7 separate regions of the Homo sapiens genome follow, and regions 1, 2, 3, 4, 6 and 7 are each linked to region 5. Evidence: promoter capture Hi-C in 16 types of primary human blood cells and fetal thymus (Javierre and others, 2016). All regions are on one chromosome and are shown on one strand. The core of a region is centred on a gene start or on the middle of the fragment in contact, and the rest is flanking DNA. Distances in the headings are between cores, read along the strand shown. Region 1 has its middle 7.7 kb from the start of PURB. Region 2 holds the start of MYO1G (myosin IG). Region 3 has its middle 36 kb from the start of PURB. Region 4 has its middle 7.1 kb from the start of POLM. Region 5 holds the start of NUDCD3 (NudC domain containing 3). Region 6 holds the start of LINC00957 (long intergenic non-protein coding RNA 957). Region 7 overlaps LOC102723334 (a long non-coding RNA gene).

The links. Contacts are between HindIII fragments. The CHiCAGO score rates a contact against its expected background, and 5 or more counts as called.
Region 1: a fragment that was not itself captured here is called in contact with the fragment with the promoter of NUDCD3 in region 5 in 2 of 17 cell types (monocytes and naive CD4 T cells); the score reaches 6.7 in monocytes.
Region 2: a contact is called between the fragment with the promoter of MYO1G here and the fragment with the promoter of NUDCD3 in region 5, in 10 of 17 cell types (naive B cells, monocytes, total B cells and 7 more). The highest score is 9.6, in naive B cells.
Region 3: a contact is called between a fragment that was not itself captured here and the fragment with the promoter of NUDCD3 in region 5, in 2 of 17 cell types (naive B cells and total B cells). The highest score is 6.6, in naive B cells.
Region 4: a contact is called between a fragment that was not itself captured here and the fragment with the promoter of NUDCD3 in region 5, in 13 of 17 cell types (M1 macrophages, M0 macrophages, M2 macrophages and 10 more). The highest score is 9.5, in M1 macrophages.
Region 6: the fragment with the promoter of LINC00957 here is called in contact with the fragment with the promoter of NUDCD3 in region 5 in 1 of 17 cell types (M0 macrophages); the score reaches 5.4 in M0 macrophages.
Region 7: a fragment that was not itself captured here is called in contact with the fragment with the promoter of NUDCD3 in region 5 in 3 of 17 cell types (monocytes, fetal thymus and naive B cells); the score reaches 6.6 in monocytes.

What each region holds. Positions count from the first base shown.
Region 1 is chr7:44,891,482-44,894,926 of GRCh38, reverse strand. No RefSeq gene overlaps it. Among named protein-coding and RNA genes, the nearest start is that of PURB, 7.7 kb to the right of the region's middle. The HindIII fragment of the contact is 9,175 bases long and covers 1-3,445 here.
Region 2 is chr7:44,976,438-44,980,295 of GRCh38, reverse strand. It overlaps MYO1G (myosin IG), which reads left to right and starts at 1,281. Exons shown (of 22, transcript NM_033054.3): 1 at 1,281-1,429; 2 at 3,225-3,433; 3 at 3,639-3,732. The coding sequence starts at 1,335. RefSeq lists enhancers at 899-948, 979-1,048 and a silencer at 1,249-1,338. The HindIII fragment of the contact is 4,854 bases long and covers 708-3,858 here.
Region 3 is chr7:44,919,395-44,923,162 of GRCh38, reverse strand. It overlaps the pseudogene MRPS23P1. Among named protein-coding and RNA genes, the nearest start is that of PURB, 36 kb to the right of the region's middle. The HindIII fragment of the contact is 3,245 bases long and covers 1-2,882 here.
Region 4 is chr7:44,087,834-44,091,346 of GRCh38, reverse strand. No RefSeq gene overlaps it. Among named protein-coding and RNA genes, the nearest start is that of POLM, 7.1 kb to the right of the region's middle. The HindIII fragment of the contact is 6,706 bases long and covers 1-3,513 here.
Region 5 is chr7:44,488,164-44,491,996 of GRCh38, reverse strand. It overlaps NUDCD3 (NudC domain containing 3), which reads left to right and starts at 1,339. Exons shown (of 6, transcript NM_015332.4): 1 at 1,339-1,588. The coding sequence starts at 1,397. RefSeq lists a silencer at 1,588-1,757. The HindIII fragment of the contact is 1,642 bases long and covers 957-2,598 here.
Region 6 is chr7:44,037,744-44,041,549 of GRCh38, reverse strand. It overlaps LINC00957 (long intergenic non-protein coding RNA 957), which reads right to left and starts at 2,501. Exons shown (of 3, transcript NR_072982.1): 1 at 2,401-2,501; 2 at 1,188-1,656. It also overlaps the pseudogene RASA4CP. RefSeq lists silencers at 926-1,035, 1,126-1,215. The HindIII fragment of the contact is 32,056 bases long and covers 1-3,806 here.
Region 7 is chr7:44,995,245-44,998,661 of GRCh38, reverse strand. The region is part of intron 2 of LOC102723334 (a long non-coding RNA gene); the gene reads left to right. Among named protein-coding and RNA genes, the nearest start is that of CCM2, 3.2 kb to the left of the region's middle. RefSeq lists an enhancer at 3,383-3,417. The HindIII fragment of the contact is 2,431 bases long and covers 592-3,022 here.

The sequences.
Region 1 (3,445 bases), core at 53-2,552, 400 kb before region 5:
ATCACCAGCTGATATGCTTTCCAACCACTATGTTCCTAGGCATCCTGTTCCCTTGAAGATCATTGCATTTGGGGGTTTCAACTCCCTCATCCAAGTACATCTGTGTTTTATTTGCAGGTTCTCTCCACCCAACATTAGCTGAAACCAGTAGAGTCTTATAGAATATGGAGCCAGCCAGGAGATTTATGGAGAAAGCTCAACCATATTCATGAATAACATCAATAACAGCAGCAACATATTTGAGCATGGATGTACCAAACACATCCACAAGTGGCCTGCACACAATACCTTCCTTACTGCTCAGGCAGCTCTGTAAGGTGCAAGTGCCTGCCCTCCAGGAGGGCATGACCCACAGAAGTGAAGTAACTTGTCCCAGGAACACTGGGCAGTGAAGGTTTGGAATGTTTCAAGGCTCCAGTTTTTTGTTTGTTTGTTTGTTTGTTTGTTTGTTTGAAACAGAGTCTTACTCTGTCATCCAGACTGGAGTGCAGCGGCACAATCTCTGCTCACTGCAACCTCTGCCTCCCGGGCTCAAGCAATTCTCCTGCCTCAGCCTCCCAAGTAGCTGGGATTACAGGTGCCCATCACCATGCCCGGCTAATTTTTGTATTTTTAGTAGAGACGAGGTTTCACCGTGTTGGCCAGGTTGGTTTCAAACCCCTGACCTCAAATGATCCGTCTGCCTCTGCCTCCCAAAGTGCTGGGATTACAGGCGTGAGCCACACGCAGGGCCTCAAGGCTCCAGTCCTTTAACATATCAATCTTCCAGGGGCTCATGAGGCCCCCAGGGAGCACTAGGTGAGTGCAGACTCCACAGGGCACAGCAACTGTGCCTAACGCAGCTTCCCAACCTCTGGGCGTGCCAGAAGAGGAACTACAAATCATGGAGGGCAGCTGATTTGATTGATAAGCCCTGAGGCTGAGAACTCCGCTTCCTGGAACCCAATACTAACACAAGGAATTGATTTTCTACCTTACATAAGACAAAAATCCCCAGAATAAACGGCAGGTGTGGGCCTTCTGCCCAGAGCCAGAATTAGGCAATCTCTTTAGACTGTGCAAGATGCACAAACTTCCTTTCAGCCACACAAATCCAAAAAACATCACTGGAGGCTTCAAAGCAAGCCAGCTGGATACTTGGCCCAGAGTGTCAAGCTGCAAAGCATTTGCAGCACGGGGTGCCTGGCCTGGGAATCTCAGTGTCAGCACCCGCTAGGATGGCATATCCTGGACACCAGTTTCTCCTAACTGTCATCTTGTCTTGTTCCCTCTAGTTCAGTTTAATGCCTGATGGGCAGGAAAGGCAAAGAAGACTGCAGCTTCTAAGCAGCTCAAAGCAGGAGGGCCCAGGAAGCACATATGCAGTCTCCATCCATCGCAATCCCCTTTTGACCATCCCCAAGCTCTCCTGCCAGCCTGTCCCTGACCCTGGGACCTTCAACCATCTCCTCGTCCTCTTCTCAGCATCAGGCACAACAGGCAACGTCTCACTCACTACGGGAAGTTGAGCCAGCCAGGACGTGAGGAGTTTTCAGATTGTGGTCAGGAAGCACTCCCGGCAAACACAAATGGGGACAAACTACAAAATAATCGGCCTTCATATTTCAAAATGTCACTCATGTGAAAGACAAAGAGAGACCCAGGGATGGCTCCAGATTAAAGAGAGTGGGGTAGCTGGGCGCGGTGGCTCACATCTGTAATCCCAACACTTTTCGAGGCCAAGGTGGGCAGATCACCTGAGGTCAGGAGTTTGAGACGAGCCTGGCCAATATGGTGAAACCCCATCTCTACTAAAATTACAAAAGTTAGCCGGGCATGGTGGCACACACCTGTAATCCCAGCTACTCAGGAGGCTGATGCAGGAGGGTCGCTTGAACCTAGGAGGTAGAGGTTGCAGTGAGCCAAGATAGCGCCACTGTACTCCAGCCTGGGTGACAGAGTGAGACTCTGTCTTAAAAAAGAAGTGGTGGTTGGGGGTGGGCCTGTGGCAGTTAATGCTGCAAAAGTCTCCTTTGCTGTAGAGGATGCAATCAAGACACTTGGTGAAATCTGAATAATAAAGTCTGCAGATTAGACAACATTGTCAGATCTGTGCTGGTTTCTCGATTTTGATTGTTGTGCTCTAGATAGGTGAGAGAATGACCTTGAATAGACACTGAAGTGTTTAAAGGTAAGTGGTCATCATATTTCAGTTTATTCTCAAATGGTTCAGGAGAAAGAAAAATGTCAAATAGCGTGTGTGTGTGTGTGTGTGTGTGTGTGTGTGTGTGTGTGTGTAGAGACAGAGATGAAGAAACATAAAGATGAAAAGCGTAATGACACAAACACCGTGATGTTAACATTTTGGGGAATCTGTGTGAAGAATACTATTATTGCAGCTGTTCTGTAAGTTTACATTTTAAGTTTAAAAGGAAGGCCGAGCTCATGCCTGTAATCCAACTTTGGGAGGCCAAAGCGGTTAGATTGCTTGAGCTCAGGAGTTCGAGACCAGCCTGGGCAACATGGCAAAACCCCATCTCTACAAAAAATATTTTAAAAATTAACTGGGTGTGGTAGCACATGCCTGTAATCCCAGCTACTCTGGGAGCTGAGGTGGGAGGATTGCTTGAGTCCAGGAGGCAGAGGCTGCAGTGAGCAGAGATCACGCCATTGCACTCCAGCCTAGACAACCGAGCGAGAACATGTCTCAAAAATAAACAAGTAAAAAGTCTACAAGGAAAAGCAATGAGGGAAAAAAGGCGTGCCCACCCTGCAATGTGCAAACCCTTCCTCATTCTCCAGGCCTGGTTCTCCTGAATGCCCAGCTTTGTCTGCCCATGGCTGGCCATCTGAGGCTACTGTCCCCAGGATCTGGCACCCCCACAACCATCTCCCAGCCCTGGCAAGGCCCACTTCCATCTGCTGCCTCCAGCCCAGACTCCCAGCTCCTCCAAGGTGCAGATCTAGCCCATCCTGCTTCTGCCCTAGTCTTGGCCAGGCCCTGGGGCTGTTCAGCAGGCTTTTAGTCCAGCCCAGGCCTCACAGGTCTTTGCAGCCTCCTCCTTAGTGTGGCCTCACTCTTAGGCCCTTTCACCAAGAACTCCTCCAACTTCCCTCCTCTCCACTGGAAGCTCCAGTATCTCCTTTTCTCTCCTTGATCTCAGAAGAAAAAGGATGCCTTCTCATGTTCTAGGACCCAATTCCTTTCCTGAGTGCCCAACTTCTGTGCCTACTCCAGGCCTCACTGAGAGGCTTCTGTCATGACCCCTCAGCACCCCTCTCCTCTCCTCAGCCTCAGAGCTGGCTCAGGTTTCTCTGGGGTAAAACAGCCTTCATCCTGCCTTCCTTTGCCAGTACCCATCTTTTGTCACCTTCTGCCACATGAAATACCTCCTCAATCTACACTTCCTGCCCCTGCATTTACTTGTGAGCGTTCTGACATCTGGCTTCCATCCCCTGGGGCCCC
Region 2 (3,858 bases), core at 32-2,531, 490 kb before region 5:
TCGAGAGAAAAAAATAAACTTAACTTGCCTATCCATTACTTCAAAGTTTAAAAAATGGGATGACTGAAAGACAATAGTTAAACTAGTGCTTATGAGTACAACAAATCTCAAAGGCAGCACATGAATGACTGAAGTTTGGGAATTCTGGAGTCTGCCCTTTGACCTCCCTGTATGAGGGAAGGGGTGAAAGAGAAATGTCACCAGTCTATTTGTAGGATGAGAGAGAACTGCATCCATTTGACCTTTGATGAGAGAATCGCCCCAGTGTTCCTAGAGGATGGGTGTGACCTGCCCCAGTCTGTCCTGGGATGAAAAAGAACTTTTTCCAGTCTGCCTGGAAGCTAAGAGAACTGCACCCCTCCCACTTCTTCCAGGAGCACTAAGTGTCAGGAATGCAGTGTCTGGAGATTTTGGCCACTCCCTAAATGCAGCCGCTCCCCAAATGCGCTGCCTCATCTTCAAAGTGCAGGGACAGCAGCTCTGAGATGAGGCCACAGGGCTCCAGGCATGTTCCTGGTCCTCACTGCAGTTTATGGGGGATCGGCTGGACACAAGTACAAGGCAGAGGACAGTTAGGGGCACAGGGGTCCCACTGAAGGCCAGCCCCATGCAGAGGATGCTCTGGGGTCCTCTGTCCCTCCCCCGTGGCTGGGGTGGGGAATTGCAGTGCTAGGACCACTGGCCCTTGGCAGGTCACACAAGAAGCTTTGCTCGTCTACACCCCAGTGTGGCCTTCACACTGCAAAGAAGGCTGTTGCCCCCACCCCAAAGGCCTGGGCATTAGGATCCTTTTTCATTTTTGTATTAATGTACAATGTACATACAGTATATTGCATCTAGTGTTCAGTTCTGACTTGAGAGACACACACAGCCAGGTAACCAAGATCACGTCAAAAAATCTTTCTTTAAAGTCCCACAAGTGACTCTAACGTGCTGCCAGGGTTGGAAGCCAACCCACGGAGTCTTGTCTCCTGCTTGTGGGTGGAGGGGAGCTTCCGAAGGAGGCCAGCGAAGAACCCTCCAAAGCGGGGAGGACCCAGCATCCGGCCCCTCGCCCCTGGCGTGCAAACGGGTCAGACCGTTAGGCACAGCCTCCTTGTGGGGCGCAGGGACAGGAAGCAGGGTTTAGAGCACCTCGAGGGGGAAGGAGTGGCAAGTGCGGAGGGCAGCCCCTCCCAGGACTAGAACCCACTTCCTACTTTACACCAGCACTGGAGGAGGCTGGTGGGGCAGGGCGGGGGCGGTGGGGCCTCCCCTAGCCTTCCCTCCCCCTCTCCTTCACTGTCCTTCCAGCAGGCACAGGAAGGTGAGGCAAGGTGTTTCCAGCCGGCAGGATGGAGGACGAGGAAGGCCCTGAGTATGGCAAACCTGACTTTGTGCTTTTGGACCAAGTGACCATGGAGGACTTCATGAGGAACCTGCAGCTCAGGTAGGCCCAGGGCAGGAGGCAGTGGCTCCCCTCCTCCAGGGTCTCCCACCTTGCGTCCTCGCAGAGACCTGAGGGAAAGAGGAAGGCACGCTGCTGTCCAAGGGAGGGGGCAGTGGCACACACCCACCCAGACCAGATGGGGCTGAAATGAGTGCCTCAAAGCACGGCCCCAGGGGACAGGAACAGACAAGGAGGCAACTGTCCCTGTCAGGGCTGGCAAGTCAGCACCGGAGCTGCCCACCACCTCAACCCACCCCTGCCTCCCACACAGTCCAGGCATCTTCTGCCCCTTCTTTCCTGCCCGACGGGGCCAGGGCATGACACTTCTTGGACAGATACATACCAGGCACTATCTTTCCAGGAGGGACCAGGGGCACCTCCCTCCAGCCACTTCCCAGCCAGTTGTTGATGCTCCCTCGATGCATCTCATCCATGGGGCCTGGCCTGAGCCCTGGGGACACTGAGATGAAGCAGTCAGGCTCCACCCTAGGGTCCAAACATTCCCACCAAGTTGAGGTGACATTCTCCTGGGGTACATGGAGTATCACAGGACACAGTTGGTAGAAGTGATATTGGAGCCCAATTTACCATCAAGGAGGGCAGGTGGAGGGCAGGGAGAAGCCCGGGAGGTAGGGGCATGGCACAGTAGGGTGGCCATACAGGCAGCTGGGCTTCCTGCCAGGACTCCCAGGGAGGGGCAGAAGGCCACTCGCTGTGTACTCCGGAAGCTCCCTGGGGAGAGCTTGGGGACCAGGATCCCCACTAAGCACCGAAGGCAAGAGACCACGAGCCTGGCTCAAAGAGGAGGGCTAGCCAGGACGTGAGCTAAGCACTTTGTGCACATTGTTCTACCTCATTCTTATAAAATGAGCTTATGAAACATTGTCCTCTCTATTTTGATGAGGAGAACACTGAGCCCTGGAGACGTGGGTGACTTGTGCCCTCATCCCCAGCTTGTAGGAGGATGGGAGCTAGGCCCAGGAAAACCCATGTCAGAGGTGGTGGAGAAAGAGGAACCTCAGGACAGGCCCACCCAGGACAGGCTGCCGGGAGACAGGGCCATCCAGGGAAGGGTGGGTACCACACACCAAGGGGAGATGGGTCTGAGGGGCAGGCCTGCCAGTCCTCCTCCCAGGGGCAGAAAGGTCAAGAGAAGGGCAGACATCCACCCCCACTGGGGACCAGGTTTGTGAAGGAAAGGGTCAAGAAGTCTGAGGCTGTGCCAGGGGAGAGGCAGCAGCCACTGGCCACAGGCTGGGGGGTCGGGGGTGTAAAGACAACGACATCAACTCCCTCCCTGTCATCTGGGTGGGGCTGGGTGGGGTCCCCTTTTGTCTCTGGGTTCCCGCCCAGGCCTTGAGACAGGAAACAGCCGAGGAGGCCCCTCCTTCCCCTCCCAGCCCAGTCACTTCTCAACCCCATCTCCCCATCTGCCCTGCGGGGTTCACCCCAGGAGCCAGCCCTGACTCACGGCACCCAGTGCAGTCTTGGGCAAGTCTGTTTCCTTTGCAAAATGAGTGGTCATGTTTCCAGTGACCTTGGGATCCCTGGGGAGACCACTGTGGACCCCAAACTCTATGCCGCAATGGAGACAGTCTCTGAGTGGCTCAGCTCACCCAGGATGGCACCAGGGAGACGCAAGGTCAACACCTGCCCCCTTCTTCCTTCTCCACTCTCAGCCCGTCAGGGTGGGAGCGCTGGCCTACTGGGGCCAGGCCCTGATATGGGCTCTGGCGAAAGGCCTGTGGGTGCCTGTAAGCCTGTGAGTGCTGAGGCCTACCCCTGCTGTGTCCAGGTTCGAGAAGGGCCGCATCTACACCTACATCGGTGAGGTGCTGGTGTCCGTGAACCCCTACCAGGAGCTGCCCCTGTATGGGCCTGAGGCCATCGCCAGGTACCAGGGCCGTGAGCTCTATGAGCGGCCACCCCATCTCTATGCTGTGGCCAACGCCGCCTACAAGGCAATGAAGCACCGGTCCAGGGACACCTGCATCGTCATCTCAGGTACCTGTCCCTGCCGCCGGGCCCCCACCCTCGGCATCTTCATTTGTGAACATTTGGGAGGGCCATTAGAGCATCTCCTGTGCCCTGTGTCCTGATGGGGGCCCTAGGACCCCATCTTGCCAGTCTTGGGGGTGTGAGTGGGCACAGGGAGCTGGGCTAAGAGAGCGAACCTGGCTGATTCTCTCAACTCTGGTCTTTCCGGCAGGGGAGAGTGGGGCAGGGAAGACAGAAGCCAGTAAGCACATCATGCAGTACATCGCTGCTGTCACCAATCCAAGCCAGAGGGCTGAGGTGGAGAGGTGAGTGGCAATGGGCAGCTCTGGGCCTCAGCATGGCAGGCCAGGGACCTCAGTGTGGCAGGAAGGGCTGGCTCTGGGGAGTGAGAGACGGCAACTGGAGTCTAGCTCAGGTCAAGTTCAGTGGGA
Region 3 (3,768 bases), core at 11-2,510, 430 kb before region 5:
AACAATGCTAATGACTGGTTTGCTGTTAATAAATATGTGGGTAGGCCGGGCGCGGTGGCTCACGCCTGTAATCCCAGCACTTTGGGAGGCCGAGGCGGGTGGATCATGAGGTCAGGAGATCGAGACCATCCTGGCTAACAAGGTGAAACCCCGTCTCTACTAAAAATACAAAAAATTAGCCGGGCGCGGTGGCGGGCGCCTGTAGTCCCAGCTACTCGGGAGGCTGAGGCAGGAGAATGGCGTGAACCCGGGAGGCGGAGCTTGCAGTGAGCCGAGATTGCGCCACTGCAGTCCGCAGTCCGGCCTGGGTGACAGAGCGAGACTCCGTCTCAAAAAAAAAAAAAAAAAAAAAAAATAAATATGTGGGTAAATCTCTGTTCGGGGCTCTCAGCTCTGAAGGCTGTGAGACCCCTGATTTCCCACTTTACACCTCTATATTTCTGTGTGTGTGTCTTTAATTCCTCTAGCACCACTAGGTTAGGGTCTCCCCGACCCAGCTGGTCTCGGTAAAAAAGAAACAGGTGAAATTGATTGTAATCATATTTTATTTAAAATGGTTGATCTAAAACATTATAATTTCAATGTATCATCAATATGAAAATGATCGATACTACATTTTACATTGTGTGCACTATGTCTTTGACGGCCAGTGTACTCTTTACACTTACTGTACTTCTCCAGTGGACTCGCTGCACTTCAAGTGCTCAGAGCACGTGTGGGTGCCAGAGTGGACAGCATAGAGCTTCGGAGGCCTGCAGGTACTCCCCAAATATTTCAAGAATGAATGAATGAATGAACGTAGGCATGAACTGTGGATTGCCACAAGTTCTCACTGGGACCATGTCCTATACCCACCTCATCAGGGACGGCCACCAGGGGGCGCGAGAGTGCTAGTTGACGGGCTAGTTGACAGGCTCCACATGGCATTCTTGCTGAGAGCCCAGGCCTGGGGTGGGGTGTCCCGGGGCCACAGGTCTCACAGGACTCAGCAACCCAGGGCGTTGAGTCCCCATGCCCCCCACCACCACCCCCAACCATCTGCTGCCGGCCACTTTTCCATGCTTCAGCCATCCCCTGGTGAGGAAGGGGAGGAGGGCTGGCACTGGTCAGGCAAGGAGCAGGTCTGAGGGTCTCAGAGAGGGATCCCTCTGGCTGCTCAGTAAGGCACAAGCCCCTTGACTCATCAAGTGTGAGGGTCCCTGCAGAGCCGACATAATAGCTGGGAAGAAAGGCCGCTCTATGGCAGAGTCAACCCTCTTTGTGGCTCTGGCTCAACAGTGGAGAGACACCCTCCTCCCTTTTCAGGGCGGCTCTCCCACTGGGGCACCTCCCTCACTGATGCTATCTCCTCGACAACCACTGGTTTACAGCCAGCCTGTCTCTAGCCCCATTTCTCTTCCAGGTTGTCACCTCTTGATCTAGCCCGCCCATTCAGTAGGTAAGAACACCCAACCCCCACCAATCTCTCCCCACACATGCCTTCTGCGCTTCCCGGAGGTTCCTGCCAGTGGCCCTTGAGTTGCTCCTTCAGGTGCTCCCAGTAGGTGCTCCCCCAGGTGCTCTTCCTAGATGTTAGATGCACCTCCTTTTTTTTCCTCTTCCTTTGTTTTTAAGCACCTAGGGAATTTTATTTATTTATTTACTTATAGATGGAGTCTTGCTCTGCTGTCCATGCTGGAAAGCAGTGGCATGATCTCAGGTCACTGCAACTGCTGCCTCCCAGGTTCAAGTGATTCTCCTGCCTCAACCTCCAGAATCGCTGGGATTACAGGCATGTGCCACTACGCCTGGCTAATTTTTTTGTTTTGTTTTGCTTTTGCTTTTTTTTTTTTTTTTTTTTGAGACAGAGTTTCGCTCTTGTTGCCCAGTCTGGAGTGCAATGGTGCGATCTCAGCTCACTGCAACCTCCGACTTCCAGGTTCAAGCGATTCTCCTGTCTCAGTCTCCTGAGCAGCTGGGATTACAGGCGCCCACCAATATGCCCAGCTAATTTTTGGTATTTTTAGTAGAGAAGGGGTTTCACCATGTTGGCCATGCTGGTTTCAAACTCCTGACTTCAAGTGATCCACCCGCCTTGGCCTCCCAAAGTGCTGGGATTATAGGCATGAGCCACCGCACCATGCCATTTTTTTGTATTTTTAGTAGAGAAGGGGTTTCACCATGTTGGCCAGGCTGGTTTCAAACTCCTGACCTCAGGTGATCCACCCACCTCGGCCTCCCAAAGTGCTGGGATTACAGGCATGAGCCACCACACCCGGCCATTTTTTTGTATTTTTAGTAGAGACAGGGTTTCACCATCTTGGCCAGGCTGGTCTCAAAACTCCTGACCTCAAGTGATCTGTCCGCCTGGGCCTCCCAAAGTGCTGGGATTACAGGTATGAGCTACCACGCCCAGCTGGAGTTCTTTATTTAATGATGTCCTACCATGAAAGTTCACATAACTCCTTTTTTTTTCAGTTTTTATTATTCTTTTATATAAATCCTCTGGATCATAACTGCTTCTGTCAAACCATGATACCGAGCTTTATGACAACTCAGAAGTAAGGACTAAGAGAAGGCAAATATAATGCCTTCAAGATCAAGAGACGTTTATGTAGTTCAACTGTTAGAAACAGCTCAACATTGAGCTAGTGAGTAGAGTGTGTATGTCAGTATCCACAATATACAAACCCTTCACGGAGCTGCAAGACCTTTTAACTGTCCTTCAGGTGCTTCCAAATGCTGGTCCTGTGGAACTTCTTTCTTTCTGAGGCTGGTTTTCTTTCAACACAGTTTGGGGTCTGACAATCATGTGTTCAGATTTCCAGGAAACGTGACTACCTTCCTGTTGAGTCCTTGTTTCTCCTACGCATCTTAAAATGACACTTTCTGCCAATAAAGCTTTCCTTGTTTCTACAAATAACTTCTCTTCATCTGTTTCTTTAAGTTTCTGCAGCTCAATATACTTCACAAAGCATTGACAGGTAGGCTTGAAGCTTGGATTGAACAGATCAAAAGCTTTTGACCAGATTTGTAGGCTGAATAGAATTTTGCTCCAATGGGCTGGGCGCGATGGCTTATGCCTGTAATCCCAGCTCTTTGGGAGGCCAGGGCAGGTGGATCACCGGAGGTCAGGAGTTCGAGACCAGCCTGGCCAACATGACAAAACCCCGTCTCTACTTAAAATACAAAAATTAGCTGGGTGTGGTGGCGTAAGTAGCTGGTGTAATCCCAGCTACTCGGGAGGCTGAGGCAGGAGAATCACTTGAAATCAGGAGGCGAAGGTTGCAGTGAGCCGAGATCATGCCATTGTACTCCAGCCTGGGCAAAAAGAGCAAAACTTCATCTAAAAAAAAAAAAAAGAATTTTGCTCCAATGGGATCCTCATGATACCAGATGTCCTCCATGAGAATTTTGGCTTTGCCATATCATAAGTGGGGCCTCTGGAAGACTGGCTCCTTCCACAGGGGAAAGGTGTTATGTATGTGATGCTAGAGAGGTTTCTCCTTCAATTTCTCCTACAGCACTCCTGCTCAAATCACATACTGAGTCTGCAAAAAGATGCTCCCTGCGATTTCCAGCCAGCTGTAGATGTTCCTCTTGAGTGCTTCCTGAGTGGTCCTCAAGGGTGCTCCTCCTAGATTCTCCAGATGCTCCCCAGGATACGCCTCCCATAAAAGACATCTAGGTGATTTTCCACTCCGTGAATTCTTAGGACACTTTCTTAACTGCTTCTGGTTTCTCTGTTTTCTACTTAACTTTGCATATTCCTGTTAGATCAATCTTTCT
Region 4 (3,513 bases), core at 35-2,534, 400 kb after region 5:
TGACTACTTTGGCAACATTATTTTAGCTCAAAATCTCAGTTTCCCTATCTGTAAGATAGAAAAAAATGACAGTAGTGCCAATTCCATATAATTGGAAAAAGAACAAAAATACAGCATAAAAAATAATTAGCACAGTCCTTGGCCTATTTCTCGCCCTCCATAAATGTTAGCAGCTGTCACTTCCCATCCCTGTCTTCTACCCCAACTTCCGGTCTGGGTTCCACCCCTGACTAGGACTTTGGAGACTCCCTCCATGGCCATACTCCTGGCTTCCAACCCTCCTTCCTCCTTGACCTTCCATGTACCAGGCAGCACGTCCAGCCTCTCAGGACTCTCCATCCCAAGAAACAGCATCCATGACAGCCTTGGGGCTTCCAGCAACTTTCTAGCCCAGGGCTTCTCCTTGGTGCTAATAAATGGAACTCCCCATGTTTGGATCTATTTTATTTCAAGAATGACAGTGGCAAATGGGAAAATACTAAATAAATGACATTGGGTCTGTTTATCCAGGAATGTAATGACATTATAGTCTTCCCTTAACTTAAATGAAATAATTCATGATGGAAACAGTGGACAATTTTGTCACCTTGTGGTAGAGTTGAGGTCAGCAAACATCCCTCTTCTCATAAGCCTTCTTAGCCCCCTGGACCCTTCACCATTGCCAGCCATACCTGAACTGCTGGTTGAGCCTGGGCTGGTTAAACAGATGAACCCAAACAGCCTTCATTTTAAGGACACTTCGCTCCTCCATAAGGAATTCTGCAGCCAAATCCCCTGGCAGGGAGCTGGGAATTCTTCTCTGGACCTCTGGCCCAGTCTTCCCACTCCGAGTCCTGTCCCAGGCTTCCAACTACCCTCTCCCCACCACCCCCGCCACCACCGGTTCTTATATGGAACCCATCCAGCAAGCGGCAATGCACACACTCCTTAAAAGGCAGTAATGGTTTCTCAAAAATAAAGCGTCTCTTTTTGTTATATAACCAGCCAGGTCCCAGGCAAGCCACTAGTGCATCTACTGTCAAAAATACGAATCCCACAGCTCTGATGGATCTACACAAATAAAGAAAGGCTGGCCACTTGCCCCAGGTCACAGAGTCCAGAATTGATCCCTGGCAAAGTGGGACTCAGGCCAGCGGGTTAAAGGGTGGCCCCCCAAATTCATTTCCACCCAGAATGTCAGAATGTGACCTTATTTGGTGTAAGGGTCTTTTCAGGTGTAATTAAGATAAGAATATTGGCCAGGCACGGTGGCTCATGCCTGTAATCCCAGCACTTTGGGAGGCTGAGGTGGGTGGATCACGAGGTCAGGAGTTCAAGACCAGCCTAACCAATATGGTGAAACCCTATCTCTACTAAAAATACAAAAATTAGCCGGGCGTGGTGGCATGTGCCTGTAGTCCCAGCTACTTGGGAGGCTGAGGCAGGAGAATTGCCTGAACATGGGAGGCAGAGGTTGCAGTGAGCCAAGATCATGCTGCTGCTCTCCAGCCTGGGTGACAGAGTGAGACTCCATCTCAAAAAAAAAAAAAAAAAAAAAGAAAGAAAAGGAAAAAAAAAATAAGAATCTTGAGATGAGATCATCCTGAGTTGGGATGGTCTTTCAGGCAAGGTGGCTCATGCTTGTAATCCCAGCACTTTGGGAGGCCAAAGTGGGAGAATCACTTGAAGCCAGGAGTTTGAGACCAGCCTGGGCAACATAGTGAGACATCATCTCCACAAAAAATACAAAAATTAGCCAGGCATGGTGGCACACGCTTGTAGTCCTAGTTACTCAGGAGGCTGAGGCTGGAGATCACTTGAGCACAGGAGTATGAGGTTGCAGTGAGCTATGATTGTGCCACTGCACTCCAGCCTGGATGACAAAAAAAGAAAAAAAAAAAAGCCTAAATCCAATGACTAGTGTCTTAGTGTCTTTATAAGAAAAGGAGAAGACAGCCAGGCATGGTGACTCATGCCTGTAATCCCAGCACTTTGGGAGGCTGAGGCGGGTGGATCACTTGAACCCGGAAGTTCGAGACCAGCCTGGCCAACGTGGTGAAAATCTGTCTCTACTAAAAATACAAAAATTAGCCTGGCATGGTGGCAGGCAACTGTAATCCCAGCTACTGGTTGGGGCTGAGGCAGGAGAATCACTTGAGCCTGGGAGGCAGAGGTTGCAGTGAGCCGAGATGGCACCACTGTAATCTAGCCTGGGTGACACAGCGAGACTCCATCTCAAAAAAAAAAAAAAAAAAAAAAAGAGAGAGAGAAGGAGAAGACAGACACAGAGCAGGCCCAGAGGGAAGGAGGCCATTGCAGGCGGGGCAGAGGGTGGAGTGATGCTGCCACAAGCCAAGGAGCACCAGGAGCATCAGCAGCTTGAAGAGGCGAGGAGGGATCCCCCCTAGAGCCTTCAAGGAAGGGTGGCCCTGCTGATAGCTGGAGTTTTGGCTGTAGTTTCCAGAACTGGGAGAGAATAAATTTCTGTTGTTTTTACCCACCTAGTTTGTGATAATTTGTTATAGCGGTCATGGGATACAAATATACCAGGTTACTCTTAGCCACAGCAATGTGCAGGAATAGATCAGAGAAGGCCCAGGGCCAGCACTGCTGGGGCCAACAGCCCTCAGGAGCTCAGGGCCAGCAGCATCAGCAGTTTGGCCACACACTCTCCCAAATGCTGCTGGCAAGCAGCCCACGGGAGGGAGGAAACCAGGGCAGCAGGGGCAGGCCCCCAAGCAGGGCCACGTCCTGGTCCCCGCAGGCCTCTGGACAGAACGCACACGGGTGGAAACAGCACCAAAGGGAGCTTGGAGAGAGGTGTGCCACAGCGGGGGCGAGGTGGGGAGGGGGGTGCAAAGGTCGTGGGCACTGAGGTATCTCCCCGAGGGACGTCTAGAGCTGAAAGTGGGAACAGGAAACAGCAAGATGAGATTCATCTTGGAAAAATGCAAACTCAATCTGGGCAAAAATAATCGAAAACATAAGTAAGGGATGGGCAGGAATAGTCATGGCTCGGTGGGAGCAGGGAGGGAGGTTGCAGCCTCAGGGCAGCGGAAAGGGCCCAGCCTGGCCGGAAGGTGTCCCGCCACGAGGGTGGCTGGGCAGCCTCCTGACTTTCTGGGAGGCAGTGTCAGAGGAGGGAGCAGGAGGCTGAGGACTTGGACTTCTGGGAATCCCTAAGCCAAGTTTATTGGAACAGCTCACCCAAAACAGAGGGCTGAGGTCTCTACTTCCTGACAGCAGCCTGTGGTACCCACCCACCCAGGCCAGGGCCCTGCCCACTGCTGCCCAGGCCTGCCTTCACCCTCCCCTCTCTCACAGCATTCCCTGGGCCTGTGCTCCTAGGGGAGGCCATGGAGCAGGCTGAGCAGGCACCGTGGACATCTCCAGAGAGAACTCCGGACTCAGAGCCAGGAGGGGAGGCCGGGTGTGTGTCTTGGCTCTGCCGCTCAGACAGAGGCTCCTCGTCCACAAAATGAGAACAAAAACTTATGTTCCTTCCCTCCCTGCCTGCTTCCAAGCAATCCATGC
Region 5 (3,833 bases), core at 90-2,589:
GGGATTACAAGCATGAGCTACTGTGCCGGCCAAATCTTGCTGTCTTCTAGTAGGCTCATTAAAGAGATTTGCAAAAATGTAAAACTATGTTACTCCTCTCACTGAACTTTTATTGCTTTGAAGAACATTATTTTTTGCATAAAAGTATGTTAACATGTAATGTGTTTTATGGTCATTTAAAAATGATTAAATAAATATTTAAACATTTTATGTTTTAATTTCTAATGTGGTAAATATTGATAAGCATAACCCATATCAACAAATGTTCTTTGGAATGTTCAACAAATTTTAAGAGGATTAATGGTCCCTAAATCAAGAGTTTCAGAACCACTGTTCTAGGGCAATTTACCTGAGTTGGATTTTATTTACAATTCATTAAAGCTTATACACTATGAAGACATGTTAACTTGCATGTTTTAATCTAGAAGAGGTGCAAATCATTTCTATACACTAGAAATGATAATCTATGGTTTTATCATCTTGTAGAACACCAGCCAGCTTTGTATCCAACCTAATCTTACTCTAATGCTTTGTCAAAATGTTTAATCTCCACTTCCTCAAAATGCTTTTGAACCAGCTTTACCATATCATTGTTAATTTGCTGAAGAAATCTTGGATATGTGTTCATGATATATTTGTATGAGTGTCATGCTTTTTACTTTTTTAAGATTATACTTTGACAGACACTAACAACATATGTATATATGACGTATATATGTATATACATACTATACACACACATACACGTACATATTTCACAACGATGGCATACGGATTCTCTATTCTGAATCTAGCTCTTTCCACTTAATATACGTTGAATGCACTCTTTATTTTCTTCGTCATCTTGACTTTCTTCTGATGCAACGCCCTGAGTTTAACTCACAGATCTGTTAATAAGAAACCCATACATCCCACATATACGCATTTTCCCGTCTCTGGCTCACTAACAAAAAGCTTACCCTAGCCCCATCTTTAACCATAGGTTCCAAATACCCAGGCTGGAATTCAACACAGAAATAAGAAAGGATCCACAGACAACGTGACAAAAATCCGAGCAGTCACGTGACACTGCACGCCCCATAATTTTTTTCCGCCCGCTTCAAACATGGCGGTCAAGCCCTCGCAGCGCAGCAGAAGCCACGGGCTTCCTTCCGCGTAGGAACCTCCTTGCTGCCCTTGTCGGGCTCTTTTGTCTAAGACCACCTCAAGGCAAAGCCCGTGGGGCAGCTGGGTCTGGGGAAAACAGCCCGGGGCCGCGGGGGCCGAACGAGCACGGACCGGAAGTTCCGCAGCCGCGCCGTCCGGCGGAGCCGTTGGCTGCGGACGCCGGAAGTGGCCAGTCGGCAGGTCTGAGGCGGCGCTGTGTGTGTGAAGCGTACCTAGGGCGGGAGGCGACATGGAGACAGGGGCGGCCGAGCTGTATGACCAGGCCCTTTTGGGCATCCTGCAGCACGTGGGCAACGTCCAGGATTTCCTGCGCGTTCTCTTTGGCTTCCTCTACCGCAAGACAGACTTCTATCGCTTGCTGCGCCACCCATCGGACCGCATGGGCTTCCCGCCCGGGGCCGCGCAGGCCTTGGTGCTGCAGGTGAGGCGGGCGGGCCTGCGGTCTGGGGAGCCGCCGCCCCCGGCCTGCCCTGACTCCTGGCGCCCGCTCCTCCAAGCTCTCCCAGCCTGTTTCCTCCTTTTCCTGGTGTCCTGGGGTTGAGCTTGTGAGAATGGCTTCAGTAATTTGAAGCGCGGATTGGATGTCAGCTTATTCCGCTGAGGTGTTCGCTCCGGACGTCCTGAGGTTTCAGAAGTAGTAAGCCGACTGTTAAGAGCCCTACTCAGCACCCGCCAGCGCGTACCCCTCACGGTGCTGGGGGCCGCTAGTCAGGGAGCGAAATCCATGCAGGCCAGACAGAAGGAAGGACATTTACAGCAACAGAAACGTGCATGCCCCAGAACTACCAAAGACTTGAGCTGGCGGGGATGACGGAGGCATTGTGTTGATCAATGGGTGTGGTCGCTTGTTTGAAATGTGACTTCCCAGGTCAAAGACTGTCAATGTAGTGCTTATTAAAATTTCTATTTGAGCTTAATTCCGTACCCTCCAGGTTAAGTTTATTGTATGTTGGAAACGCTGTCAATACTCATTCAGTGAAGTTGACTGGGCACTTTTGAATGTAGTGGTAAGCAACCTTTTGCTGAATGTAGTTTACACTCTTAGTTGCCGCAGGTGAGGGTGATACGGGTGTTTAAGTAATGGTTTCTCTCTCCTTGTGACACAGTTAAAGAGAGAAAACCCAGAAAGTAATAGAAAACTTTTTAAGGGCAATTATTTGATGGAGCCCATTGTAAAGAAAGGAAATAGAAATGATGGTTGAGAAGTGAAGTTTTTATAAGAGAGGTGGGACTTCTGATGAGATTAAAAGAAACTATTCAGCCAAGTATTAAGCCTATTTGTAGAAACCCAAGAAGATAGAAATGCTGATGATACCTCCCTCAGTTCTCTAGATGTTACAGTTTATAAAATGCTTCAGATGTTTCCTCCTGAAGTCTTAATGCATGCTGCAGGTTGGTAAGATGTTACTTTCCTCAGCAGAAGCCAAAGCTTTGAATGTCTTGGTAGCTACCAGGGTAATAGGGCCAAACGAGGAATGGGGTTCCATTAGGATTCAATTTCAGAACTTAAGGCTATTCCTCGTCCTTGTCAGTGGCATAAGTGCCATCTTAGTGATGAGAGAGCTGTTGGAGGTGGCCTTTAGCAGGATCTTATGGCAGGTTAATGAAGTCTTGCCATTTGATCTTCAGTGTCTCTGTGAAACAGATAAGTTTCAAGTTTACGTACCAATTCAGCAAGGTTAAGTGATTTGACCAAGAACACACAGCCAGTTCACCGTAGAGCTGAAACTAAAAATTTCATTTTGTGGATTCCAAATCTTCCTGTTCTGTTGTTTAACCATTCCATAGTAGGATGAGAACACTTTTGTCTAGATTGATTGTAGTTTGCAGAAAGATGTGGAGGAGAAAGGAGTATATACTGAGTAATATGTATAGTATCAGATGTTTTATATTCTGGGGTCGTTATCTTATTTAACCCTTAATATAACCTGAGAGGTTGGTCTTTGTTTCACAGATGAACTGACAGAGCACTCATTAACCTGGTAACTCATTTACCTGGTAACACCTCTTACAAGACACTTCCATAGGTTAGGATTTGGTGACCAGTCTAATGAAGTAGTGGAGATGGGGAGCAGGGATGGAGGAAGGGGAGGGATGGGTCAAAGATGATCCAAGGTTTCAACTTGGGTGACTGGAATAGTGATAATGCGTTAACTGAACTGTCACCTGGGTTTAGGGGAAAAAGTTCAGTTTTAGACAGGTTGAACTTGAAGTTGCAGGTAGGAGTCCCTGCCCATAGGCTATTGGAATTACTGGACTAGATCTTTTGGGAGCTAGAGCAACTGGAGTGGTCCGAGGGAGAGAGAAGAGCCAAAGGTGAAGAACAGGCCTTGGGGAATAATCTTGGTGGAGAGCAATAAGTTTCACAGAAACCAAGGGGACAACAGTCTCCAGCAGATGCTTAAGAGAGGTGTCATGTTTTCTGGAAGTGGTTCTCAACCATCAGCATCGCTTAAGGAACTTTTTTCTTTCTTTTTTTTTTTTTTTTTTTCCTGGAGATGGAGTCTCACTCTGTCGCCCAGGCTGGAGTGCAGTGGCATGATCTCAGCTCACTGCAACCTCCGCCTCCTGGGTTCAAGCAATTCTCCTGCCTCAGCCTCTCGAGTAGCTGGGACTGCAGGTGTGCGCCACCACGCCCGGCTGATTTTTGTATTTTTAGTAGAGAT
Region 6 (3,806 bases), core at 1,252-3,751, 450 kb after region 5:
TGGGCACCTGTGATCCCAGCTACTGGGGAGGCTGAGGCAGGAGACTCACTTGAACCAGAAGCCAGAGATTGTAGTGAGCTCACGCCACTGCACTCTAGCCTGGGCCCCGTGCTAGACTCCGTGCCCCGCACCCCCCCCCCCCAAAAGAATGTGTGTGTGATTAAAATTTAAGTTAGAGACAGTCTCACTATGTTGCCCAGGCTGGTCTCAAACTCCTGGCCTCAAGTGATCCTCCTGCCTCGGCCTCCCAAAGTGCTAGGATTACAAGGGCTAAGAATTCTAGTCATTCATTCACTCACTCATTCATTCATTCATGAATAAACAGTTTGCCCTGCTTGTGTACCTGTCCCCCTCCTGGGCGGATACGGCAGGCAAACGGTGCAAGGGCGGCTGCCGGGAGAAGGTGGGCAGCTGGAGTGGGACTGGGGGAGACAGGATCAATGTGACCTGCGGTGGTCCCCAGGTGGCCGGGATGCAGTACCTGCACGGCGTCCTGGGCCCCATCATCAACAAGGTGTTTGAGGAGAAGTACGTGGAGCTGGACCCCAGCAAAGTGGAAGTTAAGGATGTAGGGTGAGGCCGGGGGTAACTCCGGGGGGGTGCGGGGCGCAGCGGCAGCGGGTTGGGATCAGGCCCTGTCAGCATGTGTGTTTGTGCTTCTGCCCACCCGTGTATTGTCCCCTGTGTCCGTGTCCCGGCTGCTGTGAGAGCCACTGTTCCTGTCGTGGCCCTGGCGCTGACCGTGACCTCCTCTGCCAACCCGCCCCGTTCCACGCAGGTGTTCCGGGCTGCACCGCCCGCAGACCGAGGCCGAGGTGCTGGAGCAGAGCGCGCAGACGCTGCGCGCCCACCTGGGGGCCCTGCTGAGCGCGCTCAGCCGCTCGGTTCCCGCGTGCCCCGCCGTGGTGCGCGCCACCTTCCGCCAGCTCTTCCGGCGCGTGCGCGAGCGCTTCCCCGGCGCCCAGCACGAGGTGCGCCCTCCACCCGCTGGGCTAGGCTGGGCCGGGTTGGACTGGGCTGGGGCGAGGGGCGGGCGAAGAGCGGTGGGGAACCAGGGAGCGCTGGGGAGGACCAGGGAGGCTGTGTCCCGGCGAGGGTCAGGGACGGAGCCTAAGGGGAGGGGGCTGCCAGGAGCCCTGGTCTGGGGGACTCCAGCCCGCGCTCTTCCGCACCCCTCCAGAATGTACCGTTCATCGCCGTCACCAGCTTCCTGTGCCTGCGCTTCTTCTCTCCCGCCATCATGTCGCCCAAGCTCTTCCACCTGCGGGAGCGCCACGCGGACGCCCGCACCAGCCGCACCCTGCTCCTGTTGGCCAAGGTGCGGGCCTTGCGGCCACGGGCGGGATGCACAGCTGGGTGTCCTACCGGGGCCCTGGCCTGGACTGCAGAGTGTTCCCTACCGGCTCCGGCGAGGCCACTGGCACGCCCACGTAGGCACTGCACTTCACAGTTTGCAAAGCCTTCCTGTGGCCACCTTGTCCGAGTTCCATCTCATGGATAAGGGAACAGGCCTGCGAGGGGTCGGGGGTTGCCAAGGCCGCCCATCCTGTCGGTGGTGAATCGCGGGACCTTCCAACCCAGGTCTGCTTACTCTCAGGCTGCACCTATGTGCCCGGCACCGGGGTGGGGTATCCAGTGCAGCAGCGTCAGTTAAACCTACAGAGGAAGGCCCAAGTGGTCTCAGTTATCATAAGGCATCAAACTTCATGATCCTCTCCTCCCTGATCCCTAGTGGGGCTGGAGGGGGCCCGTGGGCATGGCCTCTGTCGCCTCTGCCTCCATCGCTACAGCTGAGTAGCAAAGACTTGGGGAGGGGGGGTGGGAGGGGGTGCAGTGGCTAGGCCCCTAACCTAGCAGAACCTGGTCCTTCCTGCTGTCACCTCCAGGCAGTCCAGAACGTGGGCAACATGGACACGCCGGCTTCCAGGGCCAAGGAGGCTTGGATGGAGCCGCTGCAGCCCACCGTGCGCCAGGGCGTGGCGCAGCTGAAGGACTTCATCACCAAGCTCGTGGACATCGAGGAGAAGGACGGTGAGCGCCGCCCTGCACAGACCCGCCCACAGCCTACTGCTGACGTTTGCTCCGCCCTTGAGCCCCACGGCCCCACCCACCGCTGTTTGTTCCTCTCGTGGCCCCACCCACCGCCTGCTGTTGACATTTGCCAGGCCCCCAGGCCATAGACCCACGCACCACTGTTTGTGCTTCCTGTGACCCTGCCCACTGCCTGCTGTTGACGTTTGCCCCACCCCTAGACCCATGGCCTCACCTCCCATCATCTGTGCCTGTTGACATTTGCTCCATCCTTGAGCTCCATAGCCCCGCCGCCACCTGCTACTGACGCGTGTCCCGCCTCCAAGCCCATGGCCCTGCCTTCCTCAGTCCACCTGTCACCCCGCTCACCACCAGCTGTTGATGTTTGCTCCGCCCTTGAGCCCCATGACTACGTCCACTGCCTGCTGTTCAGATTTGCTCAGCCCTTGAGCCCCATGGCCCCGCCCACTGCTCCGCCCCCCCCCCCCAGTCCCGCCCTCATTCCCTGGGCTCTCTATTCCCCTCCCTCCCTGGCCTGGCAGAGCTGGACCTGCAGCGGACGCTGAGTTTGCAGGCGCCACCTGTGAAGGAGGGGCCACTCTTCATCCACAGGACCAAGGGCAAGGGCCCCCTCATGTCCTCCTCCTTCAAGAAGCTCTACTTCTCCCTCACTACCGAGGCCCTCAGCTTCGCGAAGACGCCCAGCTCCAAGGTGGGTAAGGAGGGAGGCCGGCAAGTGGGGCTCTGAGAGGCCGGCAAGTGGGGCACCTTAGAGGCACCTGTCCCCTTCCTTGGAGCCCACTTGAGGTACCCCCGGGGTCAGAGAAGAAAGCCAGGTGTGTGGCATCTGTACTGCTTGTCAGAACCTAGGAGGGCCGGGCACGGTGGCTCACGCCTGTAATCCCAGGACTTTGGGAGGCCAAGGCGGGTGGATCACTTGAGGTTAGGAGTTTGAGACCAGCCTGGCCAACATGGAGAAACCCCGTCTCTACTAAAAATACAAAAAATCAGCCGGGTGTGGTGGTGGGTGCCTGTAGTCCCAGCTACTCGGGAGCCTGAGGCACGGGAATCGCTTGAACCCGGGAGGCAGAAGTTGCAGTGAGCCGAGATCGTGCCACTGCACTCCAACCTGGGCAACAGAGCAAGACTCCGTCTCAAAAAAAAAAATGAATATGGAGGAAGTTGATCCGACCTTACCAGGTTGTTGAGGATTAAATGAGATGATCTCCCTAAGGGTCCTGACCCAGGGCCTGGCAGGTAGTACTATTTAGGCAAATGGTATTATTAAAGATAGTACATCACCTGGGCTGCTAGATGAGTAGGAGGCTAGGGCAAACAGGGGAGGCTTCCTGGAACGGGCAGGAATATAGAAGCATGGAATCTTGGTGTGGGAGGGGATCTCAAAGATCACCTTGTACAGCCCTCTCTGAGTCATGGGTCACCTCTCCTGCAAGCTCTCTTCTCCCAGGAAGGGCTGAGGACATACTTCCTCCATGGACCTGGTGACTGCTTGCTGTACACCTGCCCCTAGTCATGCAGGCTATGGGGATGATCTTCCAGGAGTACCCAGCCTAGCCCTGGGCAGGTGAGAGCAGGCTAGGAGTAGGTGAAGGAGCTCATCACCCACCCTGTTCTCAACCAGCTCAGGGGTCCCACCAGATGAGGGGCCCGCCCCTTCCGACCAAAGACCCCTCAGATGATGATAATTATTTTTTGAGACAGGGTCTTGCTCTGTCACCCAGACTGTAGTGCAGTGGTGCGATCATAGCTGACTG
Region 7 (3,417 bases), core at 558-3,057, 510 kb before region 5:
CGTCTTCCACAAATGCATATTTATCACTCCATAATACAGTAAACAACACTACTAAAACTTCTCTTAGCCTAACTCTGGATGTGCTGACTTCCTCAGGCTGTTCTTATCCATCAGAATACCTTTGCCCTGTCTTTGCATACACAGGTTCATGCTTCAAGCAAAAGTCCACTGGCTAATGATCAGATGGTGATAACTGGGAATAAAGACAATAAAATGAGAAAAGCAAAAAGGCTGTTAGCTTGCTATAACAAGGGAGTCAGCCACCATCATTTGTATTTGGATGAGACTCAATGTCAGGCAGAGGAGTGGGTAAGCTTTATAGTGAAAAAAGGGAAGCCTCCAGGGATGTCCTCATTTGAGGCTGTTGGCCTGGGGAAGCAAGGGGCAGGGCATCCCAAGTGATTGGTTAGGGGCACATATTTGTCTTTCTCTGGTTGCTCCTAAGCTGGAAGCAGGACCGAAAACTAGGAAAGCTGCCAGTTTTTTTTTAATTGACAAATAATTTTTTGTTTCTTTTGTATTTTTAGAGATAAAGTCTCACTCTGTCCTTCAGGTTAGAGTGCAGTGATGCAGTCATGGCTCACTGAAGCTTCAACCTCCTGGGCTCAAGCAATCCTCCCATCTCAGCCTCCCAAGTAGCTGGGACTACAAGGACGCATCACCAAGCCTGGCTAATTTTAGTATATTTTTGTTGAGACAAGGTCACACTATGTTGCCCAGGCTGGTCTCAAACTCCTAGGCTCAAGCAATCCTCCCTCCTCAGCCTCCCAAAGTGCTGGGATTATAGGCATGAGCCATCGCACCCAGCTAACACATAATAATTGTACATATTTATGAGGTACATGTGATTTGTGTGTGTGTGTGAGGCAGAGTCTCACTCTGTCACCCAGGCTGGAGTGCAGTGGCATGATTTCAGCTCACTGCAACCTCTGCCTCCCAGGTTCAAGCAATTCTCCTGCCTCAGCTTCCCAAGTAGCTGGGATTACAGGCATGCACCACCACACCAGGCTAATTTTTTTTTTTTTTTTTTTTTTGAGACAGAGTCTTACTCTGTATTGCCCAGGCTGTAGTGCAGTGGTGCAATCTCAGCTCACTGCAACATCCACCCCCCAGTTTCAAGCGATTCTCCTGCCTCCGGAGTAGCTGGAATTACAGGTGCCCACTACCACGCCCGGCTAATTTCTGTATTTTTAGTAGAGACAGGGTTTCACCATGTTGCCCAGGCTGGTCTCGAACTCCTGGCCTCATGTGATCTGTCCACCTTAGCCTCCCAAAGTGCTGAGATTACAGGCATGAGCCACTGCACCCGGCCAAAATACATGTGATATTTTGATACATGCATATGATGTGTAATAATAAAATCAGGGTATTTAGGATATTCGTCACCTGAACACTTATTTCTTTGTGTTGGAGACATTTCAGATCTCTCCTAGCTATTCTGAAATATACAGTACATTGTTATTAACTATAGTCATCTTACTCTGCTATGGAACATTAGAATTTAGGCTGGGTGTGGTGGCTCAAACCCGTAATCCGAGCACTTGGAGAGGCTAAGCTGGGAAGATCACGTGAACCCAGGAATTGGAGACCAGCCTGGGCAATATAGTGAGATCCTTCTTCTACAAAAAATACAAAAATTAGCTGGGCATAGTGGTGTGCACCTGTGGTCCCAGCTACTCAGGGGCCTGAAGTGGGGTCCTTGAGCCCAGGAGGTCGAGGCTGCAGTGAGCTGTCATTGCACCACTGCACTCCAGCCTGGGCAACAAGCCAGATCTGTCTCACACACACACACACACACACACACACACACACACCCATGAGAAATTATTGCTTCTATTTAGCTGTATGTTTGTACACGCTAACCAACCTCTCTTCAGCCCCCTACTTTCCCCCAACACACACCCTTCCCAGCCTCTGGTGGCTATCATCCCAGTCTCTATCTCAATGAGATGAATATTTGTTTAGCTCCCACATATGAGTGAGTAAATGCAATACTTGTCTTTGTTTTTTTGTTTAAAAAAAAATTTACAGGGATGAGGTCACTATGTTGCCCAGGCTGGTCTCCAACTCCTAGGTTCAAGCCATCCTCCCACTTCAGCCTCCCAAGTATTGGGATTACAGGCTTACATAGTGACCTCTAGCTCTATTTATGTTGCTGCAAATGACATTTTCATTTTTTTTTCCTATGGCCAAATAGTATTCTATTGTGTATATATACTAATTTTTTTTGACATGAGGTCTCACTCTGTCACCCAGGCTGGAGTGCAGTGGTATGATCACTGCTCACTACAGCCTTGATCTCATAGACTCAAGAGATCCTCCCACCTCAGCCTCCCCAGTAGCTGGAACCACAGGTGTCTGCTATCACACCTGGCTAATTTTTTTACTTTTTGTAGAGATGAGGTCTCTATGTTGCCCAGGCTGCTCTCAAATTCCTGGGCTCAAGCAATCCTCGCGCCTCAGCCTCCCAAAGTGCTGGGATTATAGGCTTGAGTCACCACGCTCAACCTTATTTTTTGTCTTTTTTTTTTTTTTAGAGACAGGGCTTCCCTCTGTTACCCAGGCTGGAGTGCAGTGGCATGATCTTAGCTCACCGCAGCTTGAGCTAAGGAGCTGGGCTCCTGGGCTCAATGGATCCTCCCACCTCAGCCTCCTAAGTAGCTGGGACTGCAGGTGCGCCAACACCCTTATTTTTTGCCTTTTTGATAATAACCATTCTAAATGGGGTGAAATGGTATCTCATTGTGGTTTTGATTTGCATTTCCCTGATGACTCATGATATTGAGTATTTTTTTATATGTACCTATTTGTTTTTTGTACATCTTCTTTTGAGAAATGTCTACTCAGATTCTTCGCCCACTTTTTAATGGATTATTTGTGGTTTTTTGCTGTCAAGTTGTTTGAGTTCCTTGTATATTCTGGATATTAGTCCCTTGCCGCATGAATAGTTTGCAAATATTTTCTCCCATTCTAAAGGTTGTCTTTTCACTCAGTTGATTGTTTCCATTGCTGTGCAGAAGCTTTTTAGTTTCGCTTAATATAGTCCCATTTGTCTATTTTTGGTTTTGTTGCCTATGCTTTTGAAATTTTAGCCATAAAATCTTTGCCTCGTTCAATGTCTTGAAGCATTTCCCCTATGTTTTCTTCTAGTAGTTTTGTAGTTTCAGGTCTTATGTTTAAGTCTTTAATCCATTTTGAGTTGATTTTTGTATCTGGTGAGAGATAGGGTGCCAGTTATTAATTAAGTCCTAGGCTTTGGGGGCTGTTAGAAAAGTTACTCCTGGATTGTCACTAGAGATAACACCTGGCTTCCTGCAAGTATGACTTACAGCAGGCTTGTTTCCTGGGCTGGTTGCTGTAGATAACGAATTGGTTTCCTGAGGAGGTTTCTGCAGGTTGTCAGTCAGAGTTCTAGTT